Regions from separate parts of the Homo sapiens genome. Here all the other regions are linked to region 2. The links are contacts of gene promoters, found by promoter capture Hi-C in human tissues and cell types (Jung and others, 2019). All regions are on one chromosome and are shown on one strand. Each heading gives the region's core, a stretch centred on a gene start or on the middle of the fragment in contact. The rest is flanking DNA. Distances are from core to core; before and after follow the strand shown.

What was found. The method cuts DNA at HindIII sites, captures the fragments that hold promoters and counts their contacts. A contact is called where the count stands out against the background at its distance.
Region 1: a fragment that was not itself captured here is called in contact with the fragment with the promoter of AP1M1 in region 2 in 1 of the 25 tissues and cell types used here (liver).
Region 3: a contact is called between a fragment that was not itself captured here and the fragment with the promoter of AP1M1 in region 2, in 1 of the 25 tissues and cell types used here (spleen).
Region 4: a fragment that was not itself captured here is called in contact with the fragment with the promoter of AP1M1 in region 2 in 1 of the 25 tissues and cell types used here (liver).
Region 5: the fragment with the promoter of CALR3 here is called in contact with the fragment with the promoter of AP1M1 in region 2 in 3 of the 25 tissues and cell types used here (lymphoblastoid cells, psoas muscle and spleen).

The regions. Positions count from the first base shown.
Region 1 is chr19:16,609,826-16,612,965 of GRCh38, reverse strand. The region is part of intron 1 of MED26 (mediator complex subunit 26); the gene reads left to right. Among named protein-coding and RNA genes, the nearest start is that of MED26, 17 kb to the left of the region's middle. The HindIII fragment of the contact is 6,796 bases long and covers 1-3,140 here.
Region 2 is chr19:16,196,505-16,199,973 of GRCh38, reverse strand. AP1M1 (adaptor related protein complex 1 subunit mu 1) reads right to left here and starts at 2,063. Exons shown (of 12, transcript NM_032493.4): 1 at 1,906-2,063. The coding sequence starts at 1,947. RefSeq lists a silencer at 1,680-1,919. The HindIII fragment of the contact is 7,648 bases long and covers 1-3,469 here.
Region 3 is chr19:16,454,693-16,457,737 of GRCh38, reverse strand. All of the region lies in intron 1 of EPS15L1 (epidermal growth factor receptor pathway substrate 15 like 1), which reads left to right. Among named protein-coding and RNA genes, the nearest start is that of EPS15L1, 16 kb to the left of the region's middle. RefSeq lists enhancers at 433-1,191, 2,635-3,045. The HindIII fragment of the contact is 6,990 bases long and covers 1-3,045 here.
Region 4 is chr19:16,579,141-16,582,345 of GRCh38, reverse strand. All of the region lies in intron 1 of MED26 (mediator complex subunit 26), which reads left to right. Among named protein-coding and RNA genes, the nearest start is that of SLC35E1, 8.3 kb to the right of the region's middle. RefSeq lists an enhancer at 1-356 and a silencer at 534-583. The HindIII fragment of the contact is 7,303 bases long and covers 1-3,205 here.
Region 5 is chr19:16,494,862-16,497,964 of GRCh38, reverse strand. It overlaps CALR3 (calreticulin 3), which reads left to right and starts at 1,798. Exons shown (of 9, transcript NM_145046.5): 1 at 1,798-1,926; 2 at 2,113-2,214. The coding sequence starts at 1,836. C19orf44 (chromosome 19 open reading frame 44) reads right to left here and starts at 1,571. Exons shown (of 9, transcript NM_032207.4): 1 at 1,500-1,571. RefSeq lists enhancers at 1,469-1,898, 1,533-2,033, 2,034-2,534. The HindIII fragment of the contact is 12,389 bases long and covers 1-3,103 here.

The DNA.
Region 1 (3,140 bases), core at 355-2,854, 410 kb before region 2:
TTGTAGATACTGAACTTTGATTTTCACAAATGCTGTTCTTTTTCAAGGGTAGTCTTTCCTTTAGTGTCAGCAAGGAGCAGTTACAAGACAACATTGCATAATTTACACATTTCTAAATGCTCCCTCGGGGGAAAACAGGAAGAAATTGGTTGTAGAACAAAATCCCAGACGTCAGGGTCCAGAGCCTCTTCCTTGGAAGAGGTGCTTAGGCTGAAATTCACAAGCAGGTTTAAAAGCTGCCTGTACTTTTCCAAATCTCTCTGTGCTGCAGTTGCAGGTGGGGATGATCAAAATACAACTTTGTGCACATGAAGCTGCCTTTCAGAAGCAATAGCCAATATTCTTCCTGTGTAGAGACATACTTTAGAATCAACAATTGTGGCTAGGCATGGTGGCTCCAGCCTGTAATCCCAGCACTTTGGGAGACCGAGGTGGGAGGATCGCTTGAGGCAAGGAGTTTGAGACCAACCTTGGCAACATAGTGACACCTTGTCTGTAGTAGAAATCACAAACATTAGGTGGGGCTGGTGGCATGTGCCTGTAGTCCCAGCTACTCGGGAGGCTGAGGTGGGAGGATCGCTTGAGCTGTGTAGGCTGAGGCTAGGGTGAGCCAAGATCACGCTACTGCACTCCAGCTTGGGTGATAGAGCGAGACCCTGTCTCAAGAAAAAAACCAAACACACAAAAAGTAATCATAATCATAAGATCTCCAAGATTTTACTGGACAGAAAAATGTTGACGTAATTGATACCTGGAACATATACCTTGCACAAAAACATGTGGGCAGAATGGCCTTGGTGGGTAATCAAGACTGGATGTTAAGCCAGCGGGTTGCTGTTTTATCTCTCCCGGCCTATCTCCTACCCCACCCCCAACAACCTGCATCACCCTGTTGGCAGGAGCTCAGAGCCACTGTCACCCTCTTGGAAACTATTTATGTAGCAAGAGGCATAGACATGCTCATGTCCTGTGACCCAGTAATTTTACTCTTGGAAGTTTATTTACAGGCTGAGCTTGGTGGCTCACGCCTGTAATCCCAACACTTTGGGAGGCCAAGGTGGCAGGATCGCTTGAGGCAAGGAGTTCAAGACCAGACTGACCAACATAACAAGACCTTGTCTCCATTTACTTCTTTTTTTTTTAATGAAGTTTATTTTTAAACAGCATGGGAGAAGCTTCAGAATCATGGTGCATCCACAGAGTCAAATAGCCTATAGCCGAAAGCGTGATTCTGAAGGCTCTATAGAAAAATGGGCAGGCCTTACCATGAGGGGGAAAGGAGTGGTTTTGTGACTCAGGCATCTGGATAGGCTGGATGCCTAAAGAACTAGAACTTGGGGTAAAATGGAAGCACTTGTGTTGGTTGGGGCAGGGGGAATGGGTTGGTTTGTTTTCCCCTATGCTCCATTGTCTTTTCAATTAAACTGTAAAAAAATGAAAATAAAAGTAGGCTGCTCTAGCCTGAAGAGCACTTGAGCACTATAGAGAGCAATCGGCTGTGGAGTGGATTGCGGGCCTCTATGTACTGCAATCAGTGGAGAGGATTAGTTCCCCTCTCATACGTTTCCGGAAGGTTCAGAACACTAGTGTGCAACATAACACTCCAGTCAAGGCCACCAGTCATGTTCTTCATGTTCCCAGAGGTCCATCCCACCAAAAATGACTGGACAACACCTGGTTTTCTCCACACAGTCAGTGAAGCCACACCCCATGGCTCTGCTAAACACCCTGGAGTGGTCCATGCCTCTGCCTTCCTCTCACCTTAGTCACCTACTCCACCTGTGAGGCCCGGGGGCTACTGCCAGGATGCATGTTCTCCAGCCCTCCTCTGCCCTCCATCTCGAGTCCAACCCTGGCCATTTCCCTCTTGGTCCTGTCCCTTCCATACCGATAAGCAGATGACACCACTGTCACTTCACATCCTTCAGTGGTTTTCCATCACCCTTAGAATAGACGCCCACATTCCTTATTGTCATGATCTACACATGCTACAGGCCTTGGGCCCTTCTTTCCTTTCTCAGCTTAACTTGAACCCTTGCCCTCATTCTTGTGGGAGAACCTTCTCCCTCATCCAGTTCTTGTGACAGTCGGACTTCTTCAGGCCTCTCCTGGCCACCCATTATACAGAGCCCATGCCCTCCTGCTGTCACACTGCTTTCAGCCTTCCATGTCATGGCACACATAGGAAACAGTGGCATCCACAGGGTGCAATGGGTAATTTGGAGGCGAGACTAGGGGAAAGTGCATGTGCTGTTTCTACCATAGAAATTATAAGGATGGTGGCTCACGCCTGTAACCTGTAATCCCAGCACTTTGGGAGGCTGAGGCGGGCGGATCACCTGAGTTCGGGAGTTTGAGACCAGCCTGACCAACATGGGGAAACCCCATCTCTACTAAAAATACAAAATGAGCTGGGCGTGGTGGCTAATGCTTGTAATCCCAGCTACCAGGAGGCTGAGGCAGGAGAATTGCTTGAACCTGGGAGGCGGAGGTTGTGGTGAGCCGAGATCACACCATTGCACTCCAGCCTGGGCAACAAGAGCAAAACTCAGTCTTGAAAAAAAAAAAAAAGAAATTATAAGGAAAATAAAATACAGGGTGTTAGGGAGCATAGTTAATACTGAACTTGTGTTGAATAACATTATGATTATTATTATTTTTAGAGGCAAGGTTTTGCTTATTATTATTATTTTTTAGAGACAGAGTCTTGCTCTAAAAACTTTACTTGTCCAGGCTGGAGTGCAATAGCGCAATCATAGCTCACTACAGCCTTGAGCTACTGGGCTCAAGGGATCCTCCTGCCTCAGCCTCCCAAGTAGCTGGAACTACAAGTGCTAGCCACCACACCTCACTAATTTTTGTATTTTTTATAGAGACGGTCTCGCTGTGTTGCCCAGGCTGGTCTTGAACTCCTGGCCGCCTTGGCATCCCAAAGGGTTGGGGTTACATGTGTGAGCGACCACACCCGGCTTGAATAACATTACTGAAATAACATTGCCTTTTTTTTTTTTTTTTTTTTTTTTTAAAGAGTGCTTGTGTCCAAGAACATAACTTTTATATGTTAGGGTGTGGGTTTTGTTTTTGTTTCTGTTTTGCTTGACTTTGATAATTGTTGTGGAGAAATTTTGTTTGCACAAGAA
Region 2 (3,469 bases), core at 814-3,313:
GAGCAGCAGGGATGGGTTTTGAGCTCACCCCTAACACCACAGCCATGGCGCCAATGGACACCCTATGCCCGGCATAGGGCAGGGTGCATGCTAGGTGCTCATGAAATGTTTGCTGAAGGAATAAGCAAGCCAAGACAGGCAGCCCACTGGCACCTCTGGGGAGGCAGTGGCCAGGGTGGAAGCAAGACTCATTCCACCAGGACTCATTCCACCGCACCACCCAGCCCCTGGCGTGCTCTAAGACGGGTGTCTTCCCTCCTTCCAAGAAGGCGGGGGAGGGAAGCCCAGCACTGGGTCTCACCAGTTGTTGACTTTGGGTGGCTTCCAGAGCAGGCACCCACTCAAGGGACTTCAGGAAAGTGCTGGGGGTGGGGTGGGGCGGGAAGGGGCAGCCATTTCACCTCTTCACTCTCAGCTGCTTTAGGGCTCACCCCTGCCCGCCTCACCTAGGACCTGACACCCATGTTTGTTTCTCTCACTGATCAATGTTGGGCTTCACATTGTTGGACCGGTTCTTGTTGCTTCCACATGCAACAGGCCAGGCAGCCACCTGCCTTGCACCTGGGATGGACTTAGGAGAAGGCAGAGGACCATTTCTAAAAGGTGGGGACAATCCCTTCTTAAAGTTTTCTCAGATCCTCTGGGGAAGATGCCTGGGTTCTAGTTTATGTCCAGCTCCCTGGTGTCTCTGGTCCATTTGTCACCCCTCCTCAGGGAAACCCTCTCTCATCCTCGGGCTGAGGCTGACTGTCTGTATAACACACTCGCCCCTCAACACCACTGCAATTGACATTTATTTGTGTTTTTGGAGATGGGTATCCATCTCCCCTACCAGCCTGTGAACACCGTAAGAACACAGATTGTTGAGCCCTGGCACATGACTCACACCTGTAATCCCAGCACTTTGGGAGGCTAAGACAGGTGGATCACTCGAGGTCAAGAGTTCGAGACCAGCCTGGTCAACATGGTGAAACCCTGCCTCTACTAAAAATACAAAATTTAGCTCGGCGTAGTGGCAGGTGCCTGTAATCCCAGCTACTTGGGAGGCTGAGGCAGGAAAATTGCTTGAACCCGGGAGGCGGAGGTTGCAGTGAGTGGAGATTGCACCACTACACTCCAGACTGGACGACTGAGCATGACACTATCTCAAAAACAAAACAAAAAAAAAGGGACTGTTTTTTGCTAAACACAAATCGACCCCAGGCTTAGTACCCTGCCCGGCATTAGTAGGTGCTCCCCAGATATCAGCTGAATAAACGAATGATTCTGGATCGGACTCCTAGACTTGCTACTTCTCTGTGACCATTGTGACCTTGGTCAGGTTGCTTCACCTCTCCATGCCTCAGTTTCTCCCTCTATAAAACGGCACTCGTGATCACCACTCACCTCACCTAATCCTTGTAACTCACTATCACAATGAACGTGGAGAAATTCCTACTGAGAGAAAGTGCACGATAAACAGAAGCTGTAACGCCCTGAGAAGGCGGGACTGGCTCGAGAGCACCCAGTCCCCGCCACGCCTCGCCACCCCCGGCCAAGGGTCGCGCAGCCCCTGGACGCCCTGCCTGGCTCCGAGGCCGGCTGCGGCCCCGCTTCTGGGTCCTCCACCGAGGCCCGAGCCCCCGGCCCCGGCGCCGGGGAGCAGAGGGCGGTGCAGTCAGTTACCTGGCAACGCGGTGGCTGCAGCCCACCGCGTTACGTAGCAACAGGGCGGGGATTACCCACTTAAGACCCCCGCCCGGTTACCCAGAAACAGGATGGGGCTCTCAGGTGAGGTCTACCGGCCTCTCTGCCTCACACCAGGATGGGGCTCATAAGCCGGTTACCTAGCAACAGGGTGGGTCCCCGCGGGCGGAGGCCCCTGCCGGTTGCCTGGCAACAGGGAGGGTGGGGAGCCCTCAGTACCTTGCCCTTCAGGTCCAGCACGTAGACGGCGCTGGCGGACATGATGGCTGCAGGAGGCCTCGGCAGCGGCCGAGGGCGGTGGCGGCGGCAGCGACGGTGGGGACTGCTGGGCGTTGAGCAAGGCCGGGCGCCGCCCGCGACAGCTCACCTCCACTTCCGGTTCGGGGAGCCGCGCGGGGACCGTTATGTCCGGTCCGGGAGGTGCTGTCAGGAATGCGCAGGCGCAGGACGGACTGTGCGCAGGCGCATTACGTCGTATGTAACCATGTTTCTTGCTCCCGCCAGAAGCATCCCGGAAGTAAGGCCCGGTGGGGCGGGGCCGACCAAATCAGGGCACCCAGTGGCCGCTGCCAGGCTGAGCTATGGAGCCAGAGCAGCTGGAAACGGCCTCCCGTGGGCCGAGTTAGGCGAGAGAGCCTGGTGGTGAAACCGACCTGGGGCCCAGCCCTATGGAGCTCACAGTCTGGTGGGGAAGTCTATGAAACAAGTGTACAGTCACCAATTGTGATAAGCTCAAAAGAGAGAGGTAAGGTCGTGGTTACTTGGAAAGAGGTCAAACAAACTTTCTGAATGGCAATCAAACCTTATCAACAGTCACCACCTGTCATTGTCAACATTTATCAATGAATGAGTGTGCCTGTTTATTGCCTGGAATGTTATGAAAACCAGCCTCACTGAACCTTGACCCAACATACCGTGTTTCATTTCTGCAAAGTTAGTAATCAGTAATGCAACTGGTGGCCCTTGATTAATCCATTGAGTCATATTTAATTTGCTTTTATGAACTCTTGGGCTTTGGAGAAATGCCTGCATTCTGTTCCAGTTAGCCATCATAGTACCCTGGGGATCCCAACCCTGCAATACCAGAGTGATTTACCCAGGATGCCTGCCTCTCACATCTTTTATTTTCTGTCTTATCTCCGTTTTGGCGTTTGGAAAGATGATTTTTGCAACTCGGTAATTATATAGTGTTTTGCTTAGGAAAGAAATGTGACCGAAACTCTAGAGAAGCAAACTAGAATGTTTGAAGACTGCTAAGTGACTCCTGGGCTGGAAGGATTCTTGCTCAAGGCACAGAGCAAGCAGCCAAGAGAGGGTTTTTGTTGTTTGCTTTTTTTTTTTTTTTTTTTTTTGAGATGGAGTCTCACTCTGTCACCCAGGCTGGAGTGCAATGGCATGATCTCGGCTCACTGCAACCTCTGCCTCCTGGGTTCAAGTGATTCTCTTGTGTGTCAGCCTCTCAAGTGGCTGGGATTACAGGCATGTGCCACCACACCTAGCTAATTTTTGTATTTTTAGTAGAGACGTGGTTTCACCATGTTGGCCAGGCTTGTCTCAAACTCCTGACCTCACGTGATCCACCCACCTCGGCCTCCCAAAGTGCTGGGATTACAAGGGTTAAGTTAAATATTAAAAGATAAGAGAGCCAGTGCCCTTATACAAAGGCTGGGATGTAACAAAAGCCCACCCAGAGTTGTGCCTAGGCCTTTCCTGGGCCTTGAAGCATGACAAGATAATGAAGGAATTCTTAACAGGACCCTTTTAGGATTAAACAAGCTTTATT
Region 3 (3,045 bases), core at 461-2,960, 260 kb before region 2:
GGTCAGCAGCTGGGAGGGCTGCTCAGAGGCTTCATCTGCTTTTGCTCTTAAGCAGCGTTTTCAGGAGGGAGGGCTGGAATCTGTTCCCCTCCTGCCCGGGCGCCATTCCAGTTCCATCCCTTCTGCCCTCTGCATGGCTGCACAAGACCCTTGAGCCCTTCCCTACACGCCCGCCCCTCCATCCCTCCAGGACCCAGCTGCCCTGGTATTTCCTGTGGTGGAGCCTCCTCCCTCCCTCCCCGTGGCAAGCCTGTCTCTGGCACTGCTTTGGTGCGGGTGCTCCACAGCCTCGCTTGACTGAGTCTCCCTGGACAGGCTCAGCCATGGAGGGGGGGCCTTCCAGGTCTCCTGGTGCCCTGGGTGTATGTCTGCTGCTGGCTGCGGACTGGCCCTCCATCCTGTCTCTTCCATCTAGCTCTTGGCAGCCGTCTCTGTGCTTTGTCACAGCTCCATGAGGCTGTGGGTGGGGAATGTCCCGTTGTTCACCTCCACACCTGCACCAAGGTGTCTAGAATGGCAATTAGATTTCCACCTCAATGCCCCTGGGGACATCCCAAGGAAACACATTCGTTTTTAGGGAACTGGCATGTCCTCCTTCTCCGGGTGTCTGCATTGTGAGTCGCTGCAGTCCCCAGGCTGCTGGAGTTCTGCTGCTGGAGGGCCATGGCAGTCTCTCTCTGATCACTTCCTTCCAGCCCTGCTCCTTGCAGCGGATTTCTGCCGTTTACCATCTCATATGCATATGCGCCCACCTTGCTGGCCTGCAGGCACCCCCTCCCCATGTTCTGCTTGCCCTGGGGATGACATCCTGTCTTTTCAGCACAGCGTGCACAGACCCTGGCATCCTATGCACATGCCCTTCCACCTGACTGGGGCCGTGCTGAATCACCCACAGCTCACCTGTCTTCTCTGTCCCGGTGCACACCTGGCCCCAAGCCCTGAGTTCCCCTCACTGTGCCTACTGCTGCAGTCATATCATGCGGTCCCCTGTGCCATAGTCCTGGGCTGACTTTGTCCCGCCTGCCCTTCCTGAAGCCCAGGACTCTATTTTTTGTTTGTTTTGTTTTTGTTTTTGTTTTGAGATGGAGTTTCACTCTTGTCACCCAGGCTGGAGTGCAATGGCATCATCTTGGCTCACTGCAACCTCTAGCCTCCTGGGTTCAAGCGGTTCTCCCGCCTCAGCCTCCCAAGTAGCTGAGATTACAGGTACCCGCCACCACGCCCAGCTAATTTTTATATGTTTAGTAGAGATAGAGTTTCACCATGTTGGCCAGGCTGGTCTCGAACTCCTGACCTCATGTGATCCACCCACCTTGGCTTCCCAAAGTGCTGAGATTACAGGCGTGAGCCACCACGCCTGGCCTGAAGCCCAGGACTCTGTCCTACACACTTTTGTATCCTCAGTGCTGCCTCTTAGCACGAGTTCAGCATGTGTTGATTGAGTGAGCAAACAAATAAATTTCCAGGTCCAAAGAAGGGAGAGCTGGGGAATCCAAGGGTGGACCCTTTTTCAGGAGGGTTTTTTGTTTGTTTGTTTGAGACAGGGTTTTCCTCTTGTTGCCCAGGCTGGAGTGCAATGGCACAACCTCGGCTCGCTGCAACCTCTGCCTCCTGGGTTCAAATGATTCTTCTGCCTCAGCCTCCTGAGTAGCTGGGATTACAGGCCTGTGCCACCATGCCTAGCTAATTTTATATTTTTAGTAGAGACAAGATTTCTCCATGTTGGTCAGGCTGGTCTCGAACTCCTGACCTCAGGTGATCCACCCGTCTTGGTCTCCCATATTGCTGGAATTATAGGTGTGATCCACTGCGCCTGGCTTTCAGGAGGTTTTATGCGAAGGGTGGGGGGAGGTCAGTAGCTGGAGGTGGAAGAGAGATGGAGGGATGTTTCTGGGGAGAGGGTACATTTTTACCTGGAGCCAGTGGAAGGAGGGCGATGAGGAGGATACCAGGAATCACAACAGCCGGTGATTGACAAGTCCCCGGGGGTGGGAGTGCTCACCCTCATCTCCAGATGCAGAAGCTGAGGCACAGAGAGGCTGCTCGTCCTGCCCCAGGGTTGCACAGCATTCCAGCAGCAGGACAGGACTCAAATCCACATTTGTCTGGCAGCACTGTTGACCTCCACATGAGACAGCTTCTCTTAGTGAAGCAAGATGGGAGAACACAGCCCATAGGTGTAGATGGAGCTGGGCAGTCTCTCCTGAAGACGTTTAGGGCTCAGCATAGTCCTGCATCCTCCACAGGGCAGTGCATCGAGGCAGGAAGCCTGCTGCAGGCAATGTTTTTTCTCCAGCAGTTCTGTTTCTGGAATGCTGAGTTTGGTGCTCATGCCTGTAATCCCAGCACTTTGGGAGGCCAAGGCAGGAGGATTGCTTGAGGCCAGGAGTTCAAGACCAGCCTGGCAAAATAATGAGACCCCCCCAATCTTTACAAAAAAAAGAAAAAAAAAATTAGCCACACATGGTGGTGCATGGCTATGGTCCCAATTACTCAGGAGGCTAAGGCAGGAGGATCACTTAAGCCCAGGAATTTGAGGCTACAGTGAGCTATGGTCGTGCCACTGCACTCCAGCCTGGACAACAGAGCTGTCTCTCTTTTTTTTTTTGAGATGGAGTTTCGCTCTTGTTGCCCAGGCTGGAGTGCAATGATGTGATCCTGGCTCACTGCAGCCTCTGCCTCCCTAGTTCAAGCAATTCTCCTGCCTCAGCCTCCCAAGTAGCTGGGATTACAGGTGTGCGCCACCACACCTGGCTAATTTTATATTTTTAGTAGAGACAGGCTTTTACCATGTTGGCCAGGCTGGTCTCAAACTGCTGACCTCAGGTGATCCACCCACCTTAGCCCCCAAAAGTGCTGGGGTTACAGGTGTGAGCCACCATGCCTGGCCCAGAGCTGTCTCTTAAAAAAAAAAAAAAGAAAAAAGAAAGCTTTCAAACCTTGATTCTGTGTTCTGACGACCTTCCTGGTCCATGTCATTGACCTTGCTGCTTTGCTGCATGTCTAAATGCTCGGGGCAGTTCTCTTGCTTGTTGGTTCCTCTCC
Region 4 (3,205 bases), core at 305-2,804, 380 kb before region 2:
TGCATTGCTCAGTGTCTGCCTCCTGGGCCTGGGAGGCCTGTGTCTGGATGCCCAGGTGGTGCTCCCCACACAGTGTTCAGACTGCTTGACATCAATGCCCCAGAGGTCGCAGGGCAGGGCAGTCTCACCTTGCCCCCATCCTTAGCTCTGCTGACATCACTGACTGCCTTCTGCTGGCTCCAGGGAGTGGCCGCACTGGACACTCACCCTCTCTCTGTGTCTTACACAACACACATTTATCATCTCAGGCTCTAGGGCTCAGAAGTCAGCTCCAGTCTCACCGGGCTGGGATCCAGGAAGCAGCGAGCTGCGCTCCTCTCTGGAGGATCCATTTTCTGCCCCTTCAGGTGTTGGCAGAGTTCATCTGTTTACGGCGTAGGACTGTGGGTTTCTAGCACCTTACAGGTAGAGCAGGCGGGCTCCTCTACTCCTCAGGTGAGCAGCTCACACGGTGGGGACAGAAAGGGGACTGCCAAGGCTGTAGCATTTCCCTTGGGGCTCCTAGAGGCTGAAGGCCTCTCTGCACACGCTTAAGCGTGGCTCATAAGGCAGGGGAGGGGCCAAGGGTAAGGATACACAGTCACAGGGCCCTCACACCTTCGCCTGGTGTCCCCAGCTCCCACACAGTTTCCAGGAGACTCTTGGGACTGGCTGTTAGTTCAGCGGTGATTTCTGGGGCACCAGCTCAGTACCAGACCCTGGGGTTGCCCAGGTGTTCTGTCTCCTCCCTCTTGTCTGGCAGCAGGATGGTGTCTGCCCAAGGACAAGGACACTTTGTGCCACCAGGCTAGCTGGGTCTGGGCAGTGTTCTGCTCTGCAAGGACTGCTGCTTCAGGAGTATGTGGGGAACCAGGGCTCCAAATATACCAGGGTGAGGTCAGCAGGGTGGAGGTGAAGCCATGTGGCAAGCCCAGGGACTGAGTCGGTGCTGGAGTGCCTGGGGCAGGGAGTGGTTGGCCTTGCTGTCTGTCTGGGACTGGCCTCCTCATCGCACAGTCTTCCCCTGCACTGATCCCTGCCCATTGCACGAGGAGTGCGGACAGGACTGTATCTCCCCTCATATCACCCGTCCACCCCCACCATGACACAGCTTGAAGCAGGGTTTTCAGGGTCATTTGGAGCCCTGAATGGAGAACATTGCAAGGCAAGGCCGTTGTTGCCAAAGAGCAAATGGGCCCATTGGCAGGGCAGCTTTGTGGGAGTTCTGCGGGGACTGCTGTCGTGGCTCTGCAACTTTACACCCAGAGGAGACAACACGGGAAGGGAGGGAGTGGCAGTGGCTGCCTCCCACTGGAAGTGGGGCAGAAGAGTAGAAAAGCCAGAATCCATGAGGCCAGCAGAATTAACAGCCCTCAAGGACGTCCACATTCTAGTCCTGGAGCCTGGGCACATGGTACCGTACATGACAGATGTGACTAAGGGAACAGCCTGGAGATGGGGAGGTGATCCGAGATCATCTGGGCAGGCCCTGCCTAGTCAGGGAGTCCTTAGAGATGGCACCTATCCTGGCTGGGTCAGAGAGATGCCGGGTGAGGACTCAGCCTGTAGCTGGCTTTGAGCATAAGGGGAGGGGGTGTGAGCTGGATGCAGTGCCCTCCAGAAGCTGGGAATGGCTTCGGATGACAACCAGCAAGAAAATGGGCCTCATTCCTGTAGTGTAAAGAGCTGAACTCTGGGCCGGGTGCAGTGGCTCACGCTTGTAATCCCAGCACTTTGGGAGGCCGAGGAGGGCAGATCACCTGAGGTCAGGAGTTCAAGACCAGCCTTCAACATGGTGAAACCCTGTCCCTACTAAAAAAAAATACAAAAATTAGCTGGGCGTGGTGGCGGGTGCCTATAATCTCAGCTACTCGGGAGGCTGAGGCAGGAGAATTGCTTGAACCCAGGAGACGGAGGTTGCAGTGAGCCGAGATCGTGCCATTGCACTCCAGCCTGGGCGACAAGAGTGAAACTTCATCTCAAAAAAAAAAACAAAATAAGAGCTGAACTCTGCTAACACCTGAAGGAGCAGGAAATGGATCCTCTAGAGAGGATCCCAGCCCAGTGAGACTCAGACCTGATTTCTGAGCCCTAGAGCCTAAGATGATAAATGTGTGCTGTGTAAGATGCTAAGTTTACAATCATGTGTTACGGAAACTCTTGCCACGCAGTCTTGGCAAGGATGTGGCCTGGTGGGAATGGAATAGAGCAGCCTCCCTGGGGGTGAGGTGACCACCCTGCATGGATGTGGAGCCCCAGCTCCTCCATGGCTGTCTGTGCACTAGCTCAGAGTCAGGTCTGTCACTGCCGTCGGTTGCAGCCTTATTTTGTAATGGCGGACGGAAAGTGCCTAAGTGTCCCACAGCATTCAAGTCGGGCCTTCCCCACTCTGGAAGGGATGGTGAGCCAAATGAGGGGCTCTGTTTGAGGCTGGACATTGCTGACATTAAGTCAGAAAAGGCAAGAACCACTGTCAGTTTGGTTTTGAAATATGTGATAAGTGTGGATGTATACGCCTATATACACAAGGGATATTTTTGGAAAAAAATGCAAGGAAATGCTACAGTGGCTGGGTCAGAGATGCCCATTTCCTTGTGTGCCCTTTTATGCTGTTTTAATTTGTATCATGTGCCCGCTTAACTCCTTTATCATGTTGGGGTGGGGGGGAGTTGAGTAATCTACTCACTGTGGTTTCCTCAGGGCCCCTGGGCTCCCACCCGCTAGCCAGCCCACCAGAAACCTGTAGTTGCTGGAGGTGGTGGTTGAGTGGTAGGAATTCTTGTTGTAACAATTAAGGGAGTCAGTAATGTGTGGGAAGTGCTTAGAACAAGGTGTGGCTCCTAGCAAGATCCTAAAAGGGAGGGATTACTTGGTCATGGGATGTGTTCATGCTTCACTCTGCCAGACAAAGCCCAGCAGTCCCCAAAGTCAGCTGTATCCCCCGAAGTACCTAGTGTTGTCAGTGGGGCACGTGTATCATGTATCCATTTGTGGGTTCAGTTTGAGTTTTCCTGATTATCGATAAAGCTGAGAGGCTGAGCATCAGCACTGACATTTCATTGCCGTGTGCCTGTTCCTGTCTTGTGGCCAGTCTACGCCGGGCTCCTGGTCAGCTGTACTGCTGTACAGGCATTCTGTGTTCCAGATACAGCTCCTTGGGGGCCTGTGGCCTATGCCTTCTCCCACTTTGTGACTTTCTGCTCTCTTTATGGTGTCTTTGGATTCA
Region 5 (3,103 bases), core at 549-3,048, 300 kb before region 2:
TAGCTAACTTTTTGTAGAAACAAGGTCTCACTGTGTTGCCCAGGCTGTTCTCAGATTCCTGGGGTTCTAGAGATCCGCAGCCTCAGCCTCCCAAAATGCTGAGATTACAATCCCACATCATCATACCTGGCCCCATAATATTTATTACTCCTAGTAGACTAAAACGGAAAACAATGTAACTATCCATTAATTAGTGAATGGATTACAAACTATGGTCCATCCATACAGTGTAATACAGTTCAGCAATTTAAAAAACAAATACTAATATAACAGCACGCAGGAATCTCAAATACATCACGCTAAGGGAAAGTAGCCAAGCCGGGCGCAGTGGCTCACGCCTGTAATCCCAGCACTTTGGGAGGCTAAGGCGGGCGGATCACGAGGTCAGGAGATCGAGACCAGCCTGACACACATGGTAAAACCCCGTCTCTACTAACAATACAAAAATTAGCGGGGCGTGGTGTCATGCGCCTGTAATCCCAAATACTCAGGACGCTGAGACAGGAGAATTGCTTGAACCTGGGAGGCGGAGTTCGCAGTGAGCCGAGATCGCACCATTGCACTTCAGCCTAAGTAACAGAGCGAGAATCTGTCTCAAAAAAAAAAAAAAAAGGAAAGAAAAAAGAAAGTAGCCAGACACTAAACTCCACACACCCTATCATTTCATTTGTAAGAACTGTCAAGAAAAGGCAAACCAATAAACTCAGAAAGCAGATCGGGCCGGTGCTGTGACTCACGCCTATAATCCCAGCACTTTGGGAGGCCAAGGCTGGCAGATTACGTGAGGTCAGGAGTTCGAGACCAGCGTGGCAAACATGGTGAAACCCCATCTCTACTAAAAATACAAAAAATTAGCCGGAGTGCAGTGGCATGATCACAGCTCACAGCAGCCCTTGACCTCCTGGACACAAGCAATCCTCCCTCCTGCCTCAACATCCTGAGTAGCTGGGACTACAGGCGCGTGCCACTACACCTGGCTAATTTTTTATTTTTATCTTTTTTAGAGATGGGGTCTCGCCAGGTTGCCCAGGCTGGTCTGGATCTCCTGGCCTCAAGTGATCCTCCCGCCTCTGCCTCCCAAAGTGCTGGGATTCCAGGCGTGAATCACCGCGCCCGGCCTGACGCAAAGTTCTAAAGCTGGATGAGCTGGATGGTGGCGACGGCTTCACAACTTTGTAGATTTACTAAAAATAACGGAGTCGTCAGCTTAAAAGTGGCGAACACTATGGTATGTAAATGAAGGCTCAATAAAGTTGTTACAAATCAACAAACCAAAACTTGAAAACCCTGGCGCCCCTGAGACCATCCTGCTCTTCTCCCCAGCTATGAAGCGACCCGCGCAGGACCATGCTCCAATAGACCCCAGACAGGGAAACTGAGGCGCGGGACCATCCTGCAGCGGCCCAACCAGCTCAGCCCCGGAGAAGGCCCCATTTCCCCGTATCCCCCTCGCGAGCCCGGACGCCCAGCTAGGTCACCTCCCCACCAGCCCTGCCGACCTCTTCCCACGCCGTCCATTCGCAGAGGCAGCCGCCACATTCACGCCTGAAGGAGCGGTTGCCCTGGGCAACAGAGCCAGAGCAGAAGAGACTACATCTCCCGGGAAGCACCGCGCCCCGCAGACCAATGGCGCCCCGAATCACAATCGCGGGGTGTCATGGGAGCGGTAGTTCCGGGGCGGGCCCAACGTGCCCCGCGCCGCAGCGACCAATGGGACCCTCAGGTCATAATCGCGAGTTGTGACGGGAGTTGTAGTTTCGGGACGCGCCTGAAGAGCCGCAGAGAGAGCTGGGAGCTAAGGGGTGGCGGCGACCGGAAGCGCAGTGCACACCCCCATGGCCCGGGCTTTGGTCCAGCTCTGGGCCATATGCATGCTGCGAGTGGCGCTGGCTACCGTCTATTTCCAAGAGGAATTTCTAGACGGAGGTGAAGGGGCCACGCCCGTGGTGGCGGAGGTGTAAGCTCCCCCATCTCCGCCCCCTAAGGCTGGCCAGAGTCGCCACGGGGTCCACGGCAGCGAACCCTCGAATCCTCGAGGGTCCCCTTCACCCTTCCCTTAGCCCAAATTAACCATTATCACCTCTAACCGGTGTTATTTCCCCTTCCCCACAGAGCATTGGAGAAACCGATGGTTGCAGTCCACCAATGACTCCCGATTTGGGCATTTTAGACTTTCGTCGGGCAAGTTTTATGGTCATAAAGAGAAAGATAAAGGTTAGTGTAGAATCAGGACCAAATTGAGCCTAATGTTACATTTCCATAGCAACCTCTCTAGGTAGTTGTGGCACAGCCAAAACGCTTTTATTCCCGTTTTACAGATGAAGACATTAAGGCAAAGGTAGAACTTAAGGGGCTCCTTTCCTTGTTTTTTTGTTTCTTCTCTCCTTTTTTTTTTTTTTTTTTTTTGAGACGGAGCCTTGCTCTGTTGCCCAGGCTGGAGTGCAGTGGCGCGATTTCGGCTCACTGCAACTTCCACCTCCCGGGTTCAAGCAATTCTCCTGCCTCAGCCTCCCGAGTAGCTGAGACTACAGGCGCGCGCCACCATGACCGGCTAATTTTTGTACTTTTAGTAGAGACAGGGTCCACGTTGGCCAGGCTGGTCTCGAACTCCTGACCTCATGATCCACCCACCTTGGCCTCCCAAAGTGCTGGGATTACAGGCATGAGCCACAACATCCAGCCTCCTCTCTCCTTTCTTTATTGCCAAAGATTCCTTTTTTTTTTTTTTTTTTTTTTTGGTAGTAGGAGTCTCGCTCTGTCGCCTAGGCTAGAGTGCAGTGGCACGATCTTGGCTCACTCAAACCTCCGTCTCCCGGGTTCAAGTGATTCTCTTGCTTCAGGCTTCTGAGGAGCTGCGATTACAAGCGTGCGCCACCATGCCCTGCTAATTTTTTTAGAGACAGAGTTTCACCACATTGCCCAGGCTGGACTCAAACTCCTGGCCTTAAGTAATCCACCTGCCTCGGCCTCCTAAAGTGCTGGGATTATAGGCGTGAGCCATGGTGCTTGGCCTATTATCATTATTATTACTTTTATTGGTATTAGGTCCCCTGAAGTCCAAGGAGACATATTCAGCTTATTTGGTATAATAAAATCATACTTG